Linked DNA regions of Homo sapiens: region 2 is linked to region 1. The links are contacts of gene promoters, found by promoter capture Hi-C in blood cells and fetal thymus (Javierre and others, 2016). All regions are on one chromosome and are shown on one strand. Each heading gives the region's core, a stretch centred on a gene start or on the middle of the fragment in contact. The rest is flanking DNA. Distances are from core to core; before and after follow the strand shown. Region 1 holds the start of LINC02086 (long intergenic non-protein coding RNA 2086). Region 2 overlaps SKAP1 (src kinase associated phosphoprotein 1).

Region 1 (6,244 bases), core at 790-3,289:
CCACGTTCTCAGGCTCCCAGCTGCTGGGAAGGAAAGACTGACTCCCACTGGGAGCCCAGACCCTACAGGTAATGGTGGGGAGAGGACACTGCCACCGGAGTGTTTTTACAGGTGAAGGCTGGCCTGGCAAAATGGAGATGTCAGCCAAGAGAAAGGGTGAAGACCTACGTAAACTGACTATATTTGGCCTCGGCATTTCCCAGACACCAGCTCCTTTGATCTATCCAAATTGTAGTTGTTAACTTGGTGTCTGAGGAGTCTGAAACTCTCTGAAATTGTGGGATTTGGTGAGTACTACATACGCACATTTTTTTTCTGGGTAGAGGGGAATCAATATTGTTCATCAAAATTTAAATTATCATATCAGGGAGTGGCCCCAAAATGTTAAGAACCTCTCATCCACCATTCTTACACAACCAACCAAAAATGTAATGCAGAGGGAGGCATTGTAATATACTTGGGGATCTGACAAGACAAATTAAAAGGACAAACAATTTATTGTTCCACAAGGTTGAACAGATACTGTCACCTGGACTTCTTGGAACACCAGGAACCAGGTCACAGGTGCTGGGGACTCTTAGACTGAGACCAGTCAGGCCACAACACCCAATCACTACCTCCTCCATATTTGCCTGTGCAGACAAGGAGTATGCAAGGTCTCTGTGTCTCTAATTAAATTAATATGGAGCTTTTATCCACTGGGGCCTGGACCTTCCGCCATTTGTCACCTTGTCCAAAGCTATCTCATACCGAAAGAGAATTGAACGTTTCAGGAAACACTTCCCCTTTGCAAATGCCCTTCTCTTGGGGAATGGGTATAGTGTCCAAATCTCCAGCTCCCACCATTTCTAGCCAGCCCTGAGGAATTGTCTGAGACCCGGGAGCCCAGAGATCATCAGCGGGGGCCAACAGCCATGACCTTTGAGTTTTCTTGGCCGCTGGGCCACAGAAAGGGTGCAAGAGGCAGCTGGACAGGTAGACAGAAGTAGGCACAAAGAAAGGGGCCCTGGACGGTTGCCAGAGAAAAGACGGAGAATGACAAAGAGAGAAGTGAAATAGCTGGACTGGAGGCGGGAACTGGAGCGCAGCAGGCAGGTGGAGTGGCCAAAACCCGCGTGCTAAGAAGAGCCCACAGGGGCGGCAGGGGCGGCAGGGGCGGCAGAGGCGGCCAGGCGCGTCTCCGTTCCCCATCTTTACGGGGAGGTTAATGACCTCCTCAGCGCCCCCTCGTCCCAAACCACCCAATTACAACTCCTCAGGCTCCTTAATGATCTGATTAATTGGTTGGTTAGGGCGGATGGAGGTGCTTCTCTGCCGGGGACCTGGCGGGGTTTCGCTAGATCATTTGTTAATTGTGGGAAGGAAGGACGCATCCGGGGAGAGGAGATCCAGGGCTGGAAAAGTGGGTGAGCGGCGCTGGCGCAGGCGGCCAGGAGAGAGCAGATGAACCGTTCGTTAGGAGCAGCGAGGTAGTCGTGAGCGCTGAGATCCAGAGACTAGGACCCACTCCCTCTCTGAGCAGCAAATTGGGAAGAAGATGCTCACTCGGTAAGGGCGAGGGAGCCCGGCATGGCGCCCCACCACGGGCTCGGTCTATCTGCGCGCCAAGATCCCGCTTGGGGCGAGGCGTTGGGTCAGCGTTTAGAGCCACTCCCTGCGCTGGTGGCTGGACATAGCCTCCCTATCCCACCTCATCTTCCCCCATCCCCGACAGAGGAGGTTGTGAATCTACAGGCCCTTGACGTTGAGGCGTCGGAGGGCGCACCTTTGTAATTGCGGCCTCCCTTCGCCCCTTAAGTGCCGCTTCTGGGCGCCTAGGCTGGATATGAAAGCCCCGTTCCTAATCCTCTGCTCTGGTCCCCTCCTCTGGACTGCTGGGACTCTAAGCTAGGCCCTCCCCAGGTTCCATCACTGCGGCGCCAACCCGCGGCTGGGCTGTCCGCAAGAGGGAGTTGAAGGCGCGCGGAATCCCGAGGTGCAGCTGACCCTCCTCTCAACGCCGACTCTGCCGCTCCCGCCCGGCCACCTCCCTGTCGGGCAGACTTCCTGTTCTCCTGCTCACAGCAGGGAGGCAGTCGCCGAGCCGGTCAGCAGCGTGCACGGAGATCTTCACTCTGCGCCCAGCCCCGGGACACAGGTGCAGATCTCCAGCGGAGCACTGCGGAGTGCGCGCCGTCGAGCACTAGGGAATCCTAGACGGAGGACTTGGTCCATTCCACGCAGTCCCAGGCAGGTCCGCAGCGGAGGGACGCAGCGGTCTCCAACTCCTGGTCACGACTTCGGCGACCCTCCACCCCCTGAGAGACCTGGTCCCACGGAGCTGTCCCCCCAGGAGCCGCAGCGGGAATAGCAAAGCAAAGGGGACCACTCAGCCCCCAGGAGGAGCCCTGAAGCAAAAAGGTTGCTGCGGGGAGCCACGTTCCCTCTGGTTCACCTCGAAGCCCAGGAGCTCCGGTCCCTGGACCAAGGAGTGAACAGACCTGAGGAAGAGGTAAGAGGAGGTTTAACGAGTAAAAATTTGGACTCTCTCCTCTTATACTGCTTTAAAGCATGAGGAATTTGGGCCCTGACTTCTCTCTCCTTGAAGAAGTTTCTCGCGTTCTGGCCAGTCCTTGCGTGTCTGCACCCAGGGCCGGCAACAATTTAAGGAGGAACTTTACTGGGTGGTCGAGGCTTGAGAGTTCATAGTTACCTTTTAAAAAAATCATTACTATTACTTAATATCTAGGTTATTTTGGACTGAGCCCCCATCTTCGCTCCAGCCCAAATTCGGCCTTTAACAGTACTAGGGAGTGCTTCAAAAGAGGAGGGTCGTGGAGGAAGCGACTCAGACGGCCCCAAGAGGAGAGATGGGAAGGAGTGAGGGCTTTGGCCTTAATGATCTCTGCAAGTTAAAGGCCATTATTCCTATAACTACAGCTGGGGAAAGGGCAGAGGAGGTAAGGACGGAAAGTGGGCTGAGGGTGGCCACTTTGGCATCTTCTTGAGAAAGGAGACATTTGAATTCCCGGCCCAACTAAAAGCCCTGAGATGCTTGCCCTTTGCTTTACAGACAGTGATGGCAAAGAAATACTGCCACCAGGGTGTTTTTAAAGGTGAAGGTTGACCTGATAAGCACTGAGATCAGACAAAGGAAAAAAAAAGTAAAGCATTTGGTCTTTCAGTTTTCTGGCTAAATCTGGCATCATTTTCCAGACACAAACTTCTCTGATTAATCCAAATAGCTCTCAACCTGAAGTTCAAGGAATTTGAAATCCTCTGAAATTGTGGGATTTCACAGTTCTAAAAGGAAGTCAGCTGTCACTTTCTGAGAAGCCCTGGGAGGGGAAGGAAGCAAGAGGAGGTATATGAGGAAAGGGGGTGAGAGGCCCCAGATCTAGCTCTCTAGACATTTAGTGCTGGACCCCCAAGCTCTGAAACTCAAGCTGACCCCATCTACACATTGCCAAACTGAGTAGAAAGTTGCAAGGCAGTCAAGGAGATAAATTTTATTTACTGCTTTAAGGATGAGTTTGGGTGTCTAAGCAGATTATAAATCTGGGTGTTTTCAGTATTTGTTTCTTTCTTTCAACTATTACTGATTTTTGGCCCAGAGTAGTTTCTGGGGCCCTTGGGGCAGTTAGGCAAGAGAGGGACTCAGACCTCCAGTCCCTTGATCTTGCCTTTACTTGGTGAAGAGCCCAAGATTCTCTACTGGCAGGCAAGGTCAGAACCAAGTTGGCCCTAGGCCTTGCCCCAACCCCCCAGCCCTCAGGACTCCTTTCTCTGAGACCAGGCCTCTGGCCAAACTGCAGACTCCCTCCACACCCGGTCACTGGAATAATGATGGCATTTTTGATTTCTCCCATTTTTGAAAACTATAGAAGCCCCAAGGAGGAAGGAGGTACCACTGGATCTTGGGGTGCTGGTGGGGGATTCTGGAATCAAATATCCTCTAAGCCTGTGAGGACAAGGTCTACTAGGATGACTTGGTGTCAATTACAGCTCTGAGTGCTGCCTGGATAGGTCAAATATTCCCTCCTTTCCCTCCTCATTCCTTCCGTTCAAGCCCAGAAAATTCACAGATTTTCTGTGTGGAGAGAGAGAAAAAAAATGGGCAAAACCTGGGAGTAAAAGGGAGATGAGGGAGAAGAAAATGAGGGAGAGAAACCAATAGACTAAAACAATGAAACTCTCTAACCCAACAGCACTTTAAGCTTGACTTTTAATCTGGCCAGAAAAAAAAAGAAGTTGGAGGCAGGGTGGGTGGGATGTGAAGTTCCCAGCCCAACAGATCCTCCTGTTGTCACGGGCTCTGTGCGTTCCCAGCTGGTGAGAACCCTGTCTGTCCTGGGGGTGGGAGGGATGTCCTGGGTCTTTCAAGTTGCAGTGTGGGGAGTGAGGCTCTTTCTAAGGGTCTCTGAGGTCTCCCACAACACCTTGCTTGGACTAGCAAAACCTTTCTTTGCATTTCCTCTGGGGCACTGTGTATGTGTATCCCTGTGTAGGGTGGTGTTCTAAACCACCGCAGAAGGTGAGCAATTCTCCTCCCAGCGAGCCAAAGGCTATATGTTTGGGGTGGAGGAGGCTTCATCCCTTCTGGACTGGAGAAATGGGGACTTGGAGCCAAGTGCGCCAGACTTTAGGGAAAGAGAGGAGCTCCAGCTCCAAAAGGGATTTGGAGGGAAGATCCTATCAGGAAAGGCCCCCCAGACTTGCTTCCTCAAAGGGTTAGGGAAGTGCACTGAGAAAAGAGAACTTTCACTTAACTCTTCTCCATTAGGCATCTTTGTGCTTCCATTTGTACTGGAAAGCACAGTCCTGGGCAGTCAGTTGCACATTCCGCCTCTGGTATGTGGACTATGTGAAATATACCATGCAATGTTCTACTTTGCGAGGGGGGAGGCATATAGATGAAAATATGAATTTCCCTTCTACTGCCTTTATTATTGAGCACAGTTGGGAGCACATAATTTCACATCTCTTTCGCATGTCTGTATAAATCCTCAATCTTTAAACGGTGCTTGACTACTCCGAGAGGCACAGTTGCTGTCATATAAGATTCCTAGCCGACTCCGGCGAGTTACTAATTCCTCTCAGACTCCACAATACCCACGATGCACGATGCACACCCCTTTATGCTTGCTTTTCTTTACATGCCTTTTCAAAGGCGAATAATTTTTGTATTGACCCATGAGTCAGTCCATACAGTTTGAAATCCTTTGGATGCCCTCTGCCCACTCCCATAAACAACAGGTCCCTCCACAAAAATGCACATGCCCCGTTTTTGTGAGTGTGGGTTTCAAATAAGATGGCGTCTCCTGGCATTCCTTAGATTCAGATACACGCTCTCTCAGGCAGGAGGCTGCTCACAGTCCAGAGGGGAAGAAAACCTATGAGGCCCCCAAAAGCCAAAGCAAGAGACTCCCCCAAGTATTCTGCCCCCTCCACGCCAGGAGGCAGCTAGAGAGACAGCGCGCGGGAGAGCTGATTCTGCACCTTGGGGAGCTGGGGGCTTCTGTCTAGACCAAGAGTTCCAGGCCAATTCCTAATTTCCGTTAGGAAAAGTGGCCCTTCTTCCATCCCAAGCGATTCCTCACCCCCAAGGCTGCTCAGGGCGTCTGGCCCTTGCCTCTCTCACGGCATCCGCCTGGAATCCGGGGTTGTGAGCAGGAGGCCCAGGACGCAGGGCCTCAGGCTGGGCGGGGCACTGAGCACTCGGCTCTGGGGAGCCAGGGTTTCCGGTAGAACGAGGGGAGGCGACCCCCTTTCCCCACACACACACCTGTTGGAGAGGTAGGGTCGGGTGCCAGCGGACAGGGAGGCCAAGGCGTTTTCGGGTGCGCCCCGAGGCCCTACCCGGGAAGCTGCCTCGGTCTGGAGATCAAGGTTAAGCCGGTGGCCCCGGGAAGCCCACGCCTGCCACGGGCGGTTGGTCCTGAAAGCTCGGGCCACGGGGCTGCCCAGCTTGGAGAGGGGCCTTTCACGCCGCAGTCCCCAGCTGCGAGAGGAAGGGCTGCGCCCGCCTCCTCACCTACCTCTCGGAACCACGCCGTCCCCCGCGCGTCTTCGTAGACTGCAGGAGTCCAGGGCGTCTGGGGACTGTGACGGCGCCCAAGGCGGGGGATGTGGCGGCTCTGGGTCGCCGCCTTCTGCCCCCGCCTCTGTGAGGCCTCTCGAGGCAGTGTCTGTGTCTGGGGCAGCGACGCCGACGGCGCTGGGGGCGCGAAGGGGCTCACGCTCCTGCGTTCCCCTGGCGCCGGTG
Region 2 (7,287 bases), core at 2,830-5,329, 280 kb before region 1:
TACATTATGGAGAAGTTTAAACATGTATAAAAGTAGACAAAACAGTGTAATAAACTCCCATATATACATCATTCAGCTTCAACAAGTGTCAACTTATGGCCGATCTCATCTCATCTATATTTACCCTGTTTCTTTCTCCTCTCCCATATTATTTGTCAGACATTATATATTTAAATATCATGGCACACCTCTCTCTGAAATAAAGAACTGTTTTTAAAAAAATTAACCATAATACCACTGCTACACCTAAAAAAATCCAGTAGTTTCCTAATAACATAAAATAACCAGTGTTCAAATTTCTAATTCTCTCATAGATGTCATTTTTTAATAGTTTGCTTGACTCAGAATGCACAAAGTTTATACATTCGTTGGTAAACCTCTTAAATCTCTTAATTTACAGTTAACATGGCTTTATAATTTCCTTATTCACTTAGCACTATTTGTTTTTGCCAGGCTATATTTTTATTTGTTTATTTCTTTGTTTGTGTGTTTGGGACAAGGTCTCGCTCGGTCTCCTATGCTGAAGTGCAGTGGCGCGATCTCGGCTCACTGCAGTCTCAACCTGCCAGGCTTGAGTGATCCTCCCACCTCAGCCTCCCAAGCAGCTAGGACTACAGGCCTGTGCCACCATGCCCAGCTAATTTTGTTTTTTTTGTAGACACAGGGTCTCACCATGTTGCCCAGATTGATCTCAAACTCCTGGGCTCAAGCAATCTACCTGCTCAGCCTCCCAAAGTGCTGGGACTACAGGCATGAGCCACTGTGCCTGGCCTGCCAGGCTATATTATTAGGCATCGATTTACTTTGACGTGAATATAGGCTTGCCATTTCAAAATGAGATTTTTAAGCTTCACAAAGTAGAATTTTTTCATAATGAAATATACTGAATAATTTTCTCAGAAACCTTTTACACCACTCATAGAGATACTCAAAGAATCTTTAAGTTGGCAAGAGATTCCACTGGCCCATGTTTACCACTACCACAAATGTAATGTGAGTGACCACTGGATAAAAAAAAGATATTATTCTATATAATATTCCCATGGTCTTCCCTAGATTTTTATTTAAATATTATGTCATTTGTTTTAGATTCTGGGTCTATGGTGGGAAATTCAATCTAATATTCATGAAGATTTTTTTATAGCAAATAAATTTTGAATTATAAACATTATACCTTATAATCAAATTTTTTATTAAAACTATCACTAACTCATTTTATAAAAGGGGAAACTGAAGCAAAATGAAGGAAATCAGTTTGCTCAATAACTTTAAGTGATATTGCCATCAAATCTAAGGGCAAAATTAATATTCCCTTATCGATATCACCTTTTAGATATTGATTACTGAAATTATAAAAATTCCATGGCAAAAACTCCGCTGGCTTTTCTTTGTAACTTTAAGTAAAAAATTAAGTAGAAATTTTTTTTGAGTAAGCAGGACATGAATTATTAAAGCAATATTATGTCTTATTGTCAAGTAAAAATAAAAAGCCTCTTTCATGTTCTCCAATTATGTTTAAGCTCATTAAAAGTGCCCTTCCATTTATATCCCCTCTACATTAAAGTAATGTATTCTTTGGATCATGTTTTATTTTCCCTGTTTCCTTTTTAAAATAAATATCATTCAGGAAGTTGACAGTGGACCAATAAAAAAACGCAGGTGGAAATGTGAGAGAAAGAATTACCATTAATGTCCCATTATGATAAATAGAAACTACTGGCTTTTTTTTTCCCACTATGTCAAGGTACTAAGCTCGATGCTTACACACATTACTACTAATCTTCAACAACCTTGCAATGAGACAGTGAAAAACAGTCACGAAGAGTATGGGCTCTCGACCTCTGGAGATAATGGGCTCTAGAATCCATACAGGGTTTCTTATTGGGGTGATGAAACGTTCTGAAATTAGATAGTGGTGATGGTTGCACAACTTGTACTGTACTATACTATACTATACTATACTATACTATACTATACTATACTATACTATACTGTACACCACTAACTTGTACCTTTTAAATGGGTAAATTTTATGGTATGTGAATTATATCTTGATAAGGCTGCCTTGGTTTTTTTTTTTTTTTCTTTTTGAGACAGAGTTTTGCTCGTGTTGCCCAGGCTTGAGTGCAATGACACAATCTCGGCTCACTGCAACCTCCGTCTCCCAGGTTCAAGCGACTCTCCTGCCTCAGCCTCCCAAGTGGCTGGGACTACAGGCATGCACCACCACTCCCAGCTAATTTTTTGTATGTAGTAGAGACAGGGTTTCACCATGTTGGTCAGGCTGGTCTCGAACTCCTGACCTCAGGTGATCCACCTGCCTGCCTCAGCCTCCCAAAGTACTGGGATTATAGGCATGAGCCACCGCACCCGGCCAAGGCTGCTATTTTTAAAATGTGTGCTACTAAAAGGATATACAAATAATGGATCTTTTATAATTAAAGACTATTTTCCTTCCAGGCACCAGACCTGGTTTAGTTCAAATATCTTGAAGAACTCAAGTGTGTTTTTAGGCAGATGCAGAGTTAATAAAATTCATCCCATCATCTTCTTGTACAGAGGGTCCTGTCACAGATAAAAATGCTCAGAAAGTTTGGGGCCAGCATTTCTGTTCTTTCTCACTCCCATCCCAACACCACCCAGTTTTCCAGGGCTTTTAAGATTCTTCTGCTAGTTGTTCTCTTTCTTACATATTTCTAATCTTTTCATAATCTTAAATTGTCCTGTTGTACCTTATCTAAACCACTTACTCCTCCTACCCATCCCACCAGCTTCTGAAGCACATAATCAGCTAAGGTCTGATCAAAAGGGCAAGGTAAAAGATACCCTCTCACTAACTCCTCCTACCCCTGAAAATATCTGTGAGAAGTCATGAGACTGGGGGCTAGGGCATGAGTTTTTCTATGTCATCTTTCCTTACATTTACTTCCAAATGCACTAAGACTTTGCCACATATATTTAATCATTGTCAAGAAGCAAATACAGTTTTCTGTTCTAAATAAACTATTTTCACTTGTCTCCTTGGCTGCTCTACCTCTGTCCTCTCTCCAAGAGAGAAAGGATGGGTAGAAGCTGCTTTATGTTGAAAGATGACTGCAATGCCAGCATTTCAAGAATCTGGTAAGATGTGCCTTTTGTCTTTTTTAGTCCCATATAGTCTCTTGTGTTAAGCTCCAAAATTATTTTCTCTTCTCAACCTATTCCTATACCACATCTCTGACACTAACTCTTTATTTCTCCTTTAGGTAATTAATTCTACCCTCACAGTTCCATTCATTTCTGCCAGTTCACAATCATGTGCTTCCCCCTGTGGATTTTGGTTAACATCTGTTAAACCCTGAACTATAGGGCCATCCCCTGAATAGTGCAATTCACATTTTGCGAAGCAAATTGCTACATTATTACATAAAATTATCCACTGCTCAATCTATGTTTTCAGCTATAAATGCTTTAGGACAGTGAGATATGTAGTAACAGCACATCACATTACGTAAAATAGTGTAAGTGCTCCAACTTTAACTTATGAGAGTCAAGAAGCTTTGAAAATGTATGGTTTTTATTTCTTAAAGATGGCTTTAAAATAAAGCTTTATAAAAACTTGAAATACACTAAAAGCATGAGCCAGAAAAATAAAAATTTTAATAAAACTTATAATCACTCACAATTTTAATTTATTTAAGGTATTACTATTCACTGAGGTTGGATACAGTGACAACATTAAGAGAATAAAAAGTACTTAAAAAGTTTACAATTGGTTAAGAAAGTTATAGAGCAAAATAGTTTATAAAGCTATTTGTAAGTTTGATCTAAAACTCTGTGATTATCTGAGAAAATAAAGCCCCTCCATTTATAATAAATTAAGATAATATTCAGGTTGATGTTTCTGACATTCTCAACCAGAGTACTAAAAAGAAGGAAGGCAAATACTTTAAAAGATATCCCCTCAAACTGTTTGAATTCGGAAAAAAATATTTCAATTCTGAACCTTTTAAAAATGTGTTTTAATCCTGGCCTTTTTCTTTTTTTAATTTTGCACACAGCTGTCTGTAGTACTTTTTAGAATCATGCCAGATGCTGGGTTCATCAAGCAAAAGCAGGAAAACAATGGTTTGAAAGCAATTAGAAGCACTGAGGCTGCAGCAAGGCTCATATTAAAATGTGATAACACTGTTCTAGTGGGAATTTCAACACTGCTCCATTTCTGACATTTCTCTGCTGCCAGACAGGCAGGCTGTGTGGAAGGGCACTGTGATCGAGGAGGTAACATACTGGAATTTATTTCTGGAGCAAATGAAGGATTAGCTGAGTTGGAACCCTCCCAAGGTTTTTATTATGGACTTGGCTACCATTTTATTTGAATGCTACTGGATCCTGTTGGCACCTAACAAAGCTCAAGGAATTAAAGCATATTATAGCCTTGGTTTTATAAAATAATCTAGCAACAGTCCACTCAGAAGGAGGAAGCATAGAGCTTCTTGTTGCTAAAAAGCAGGGCAGGGGAGCGCAGCAGGGTGAAGGTTAATTAAACACTCCACTAACTTTCCTTGGAAATGGTTAATGCCACTCTGTGGAGAAGCTTGTAGAGAAGAGACAGGAATAAACAATCCCATTTACACATTTTTAGCATAAAACCATACGTGGTCAAAGAGGACTCACCTTGGGGCTGAAAATCCCAATAGTACCTGAAATACAAGGGGGAAAAAAAAAGGGAATAAGTCAAACTTGTATTTCTCAATTTTGGTTGGCCTACCATAGCTATAGCACCTGGTCCAAAAAGCTTGCTAAAGTCTATAACCAGCCAAAGTCACTACTAATTTTGAGAAAAACAAAAGGTTATCCCTGAGATTTGAAAGAGTCTCAATGGCTTAAAAGATGCATTTAATTCACTGAAATTCCTCACGTAATTTTGACTTTAGAGCTGGAAAGGTCCTAAAAGGGAACCTAGCGGTGGCCTGGGGTTTCTCATCAAGAGCTCTACGGGCTTTCAGCAGGATGGTTCTTTGTTGTGACAATCTGGCCTGTGTATTACAGGACTGTGTATTACACTGGTCCTAGGTACCAAATACCAGAGGCATTCCCAGTTGTTATAACAGTCAAACCCCACCACCAACACCAACACATCTCAAATGCCTCTGAAGCCTAATTTTTTTTTTCTCTGTTACCCAGGCTGGAGTACAGTGACACAATCATAGCTCACTGCAGCCTCGAACTCCTGGGCTTTGCCTTTTAAACCTAAATTCTTAATTTTACAAGTGAAACATGGGCCGGGTGTGGTGGCTCACGCCTGTAATCCCAGCACTTTGGGAGGCCAAAGCAGGCAGATCATGAGGTCAGCAGTTCGAGACCAGTCTGACCAACATGGTGAAACCCTGTCTCTACTAAAAATATAAAAATTAGCTGGGCATGGTGGCGTGTGCCTGTAATCCCAGCTACTCAGGAGGCTGAGGCAGGAGAATCGCTTGAACCCAGGAGGCGGAGGTTGCAGTGAGCTAAGATCGCGCCATTGCACTCCAGCCTGGGTGACAGAGCGAGACTCCATCTCAACAAAACAAAACAAACAACAACAACAACAAGTGAAACATGAACAATTGACTTAAGGTTGTCTAACGTTTTAGTGCAATTGACTTAAGGTTGTCTAACATTTTAGTGTCTGAGCCAAGAATGGGGCTCTTGCAGTTCATTGTACCATCCTATCTCCTCTATTATTTTGGGAAATAATTGGCAAAACTGACAACCCTTGAAGTCTTTTATTTATCTATTTTTTTTTCTGAGACTAGGCCTTGCTCTATCACCCAAGCTGGAATGCAATGGCATGAACGTCACTCACTGCAACCTTGACCTGCTGGGCTCAAGGGATCCTCCTACCTCAGCCTCCCATGTAGCTGGGGCCACAGGCACACGCCACCACACCTAGATGCTTACACACATTACTACTAATTCTCAACAACCTTGCAATGAGAGACTGAAAAACAGTTACTGTTTTTTTGTTTTTGTTTTTGTTTTTGTTTTGTAGCGATGGGGTCTCACTTTGTTGCCCAGGCTGGGGCTTAAGCAATCCTCCCACTTTGGCATCCCAAAGTGTTGGGATTGCAGGGATGAGCCACTGCATCCAGCAACCCTTGAAGTCTTAAACTAACAAAATAGCAGTGGTGGAAAGGATCATTTGTAAGTCACTTATTTGGAAACTAAATTGCATTTCTTTCCCCACAAAAACAATGTTATATATGATGGTTACCCAAGAAAGGCTACTGTATTTTGGATCCCATTTCCTCCTGCCTTCACAGGAACTTTACATTATTCTTTATCAATTTTTCTCTTGTCTGTATTCAACCTCTTCCTCTCAGTTTGGCCCTTTCCATCAGCATTTATGCTCATATAAAAATAAAGCAAATCCTCCCTCACCCCTTCACATCCCTCCACCTGCTGTCCTGTTTCCCGTCACATCACAGTGACATTTTCAAAAGCACTGTCTACACTTGGCTCATTTTATTCCCTCACTGCCCACTCACTCAACATCCTCCAGTCAGGCTCAGAGCCATTGCATATTAACTCTTGCTATAGACATAATAACCTTCACACCACCAAATATAAGGGATGCTTTTCTATCCTCATTTTGACCTCTCAGGAGTGTAGATGTGCGTCGGAGCTTTTTTTTTTTTTTTTTAACCTAGGGAGGGAGTCCACAGTTTTTTATAGAATTCTTTTGCAGGGGTGCCCAAGGGAGAGAATACATTCATGGGTTCTTAGTTTCTGTTTCTGGTGGGCCACTAAAGCCCCTTCCTCATCCCTCTTTTCCACTTATCACTAGAGGTAGAAACTAAAAATCATGGCTTCACCCTGCTAAAAGCCTAAAACAAAAACAAAAGAAAAACAACAACAAAATAAGGCAGGTTGGACAAGCTTGCAGTTTAAAGGGTCCATAAACCCCCCAAAAAGATGCAGAAAAGGTGATAGGTGATAATGGTGTGTCTTCTAGTACATACATTACTAAAATTAGGCTTAGCTTCTTCAGGGAAGAGTATCAGCCCAGTGAGTATATTGGTTATTTCTTTAGTGTGTGACAAATTTTCAGAAAATAAAGACAGAAGAGGTCAGTGGAGAATAAGTATGTTGCCATAATTCACAGTTTAATTTGGGGAACATTATCAGACATAAGAAAGTGGAGAAGAAACCTGACAATTTGTCCTTCCTTGTTCCTTTCCTTTTCCAGAACAGTTCCTGGGTTGGCAATCAGGTGAAGAGAAATGTAAGATACTTGGGTTAGAGGGTGAGGAAATTCCAGGACAG

What was found. Contacts are between HindIII fragments. The CHiCAGO score rates a contact against its expected background, and 5 or more counts as called.
Region 2: a contact is called between a fragment that was not itself captured here and the fragment with the promoter of LINC02086 in region 1, in 3 of 17 cell types (endothelial precursors, M1 macrophages and M2 macrophages). The highest score is 5.8, in endothelial precursors.

The regions. Positions count from the first base shown.
Region 1 is chr17:48,640,588-48,646,831 of GRCh38, forward strand. It overlaps LINC02086 (long intergenic non-protein coding RNA 2086), which reads left to right and starts at 2,040. Exons shown (of 8, transcript NR_189645.1): 1 at 2,040-5,775. It overlaps LINC03057 (long intergenic non-protein coding RNA 3057), which reads right to left. Exons shown (of 2, transcript NR_186590.1): 1 at 6,018-6,244. RefSeq lists enhancers at 639-1,637, 1,638-2,634, 5,802-6,244, 5,909-5,958 and a silencer at 6,179-6,244. The HindIII fragment of the contact is 12,737 bases long and covers 1-4,194 here.
Region 2 is chr17:48,359,133-48,366,419 of GRCh38, forward strand. SKAP1 (src kinase associated phosphoprotein 1) reads right to left here. Exons shown (of 13, transcript NM_003726.4): 3 at 4,657-4,682. Among named protein-coding and RNA genes, the nearest start is that of SKAP1, 67 kb to the right of the region's middle. The HindIII fragment of the contact is 990 bases long and covers 3,585-4,574 here.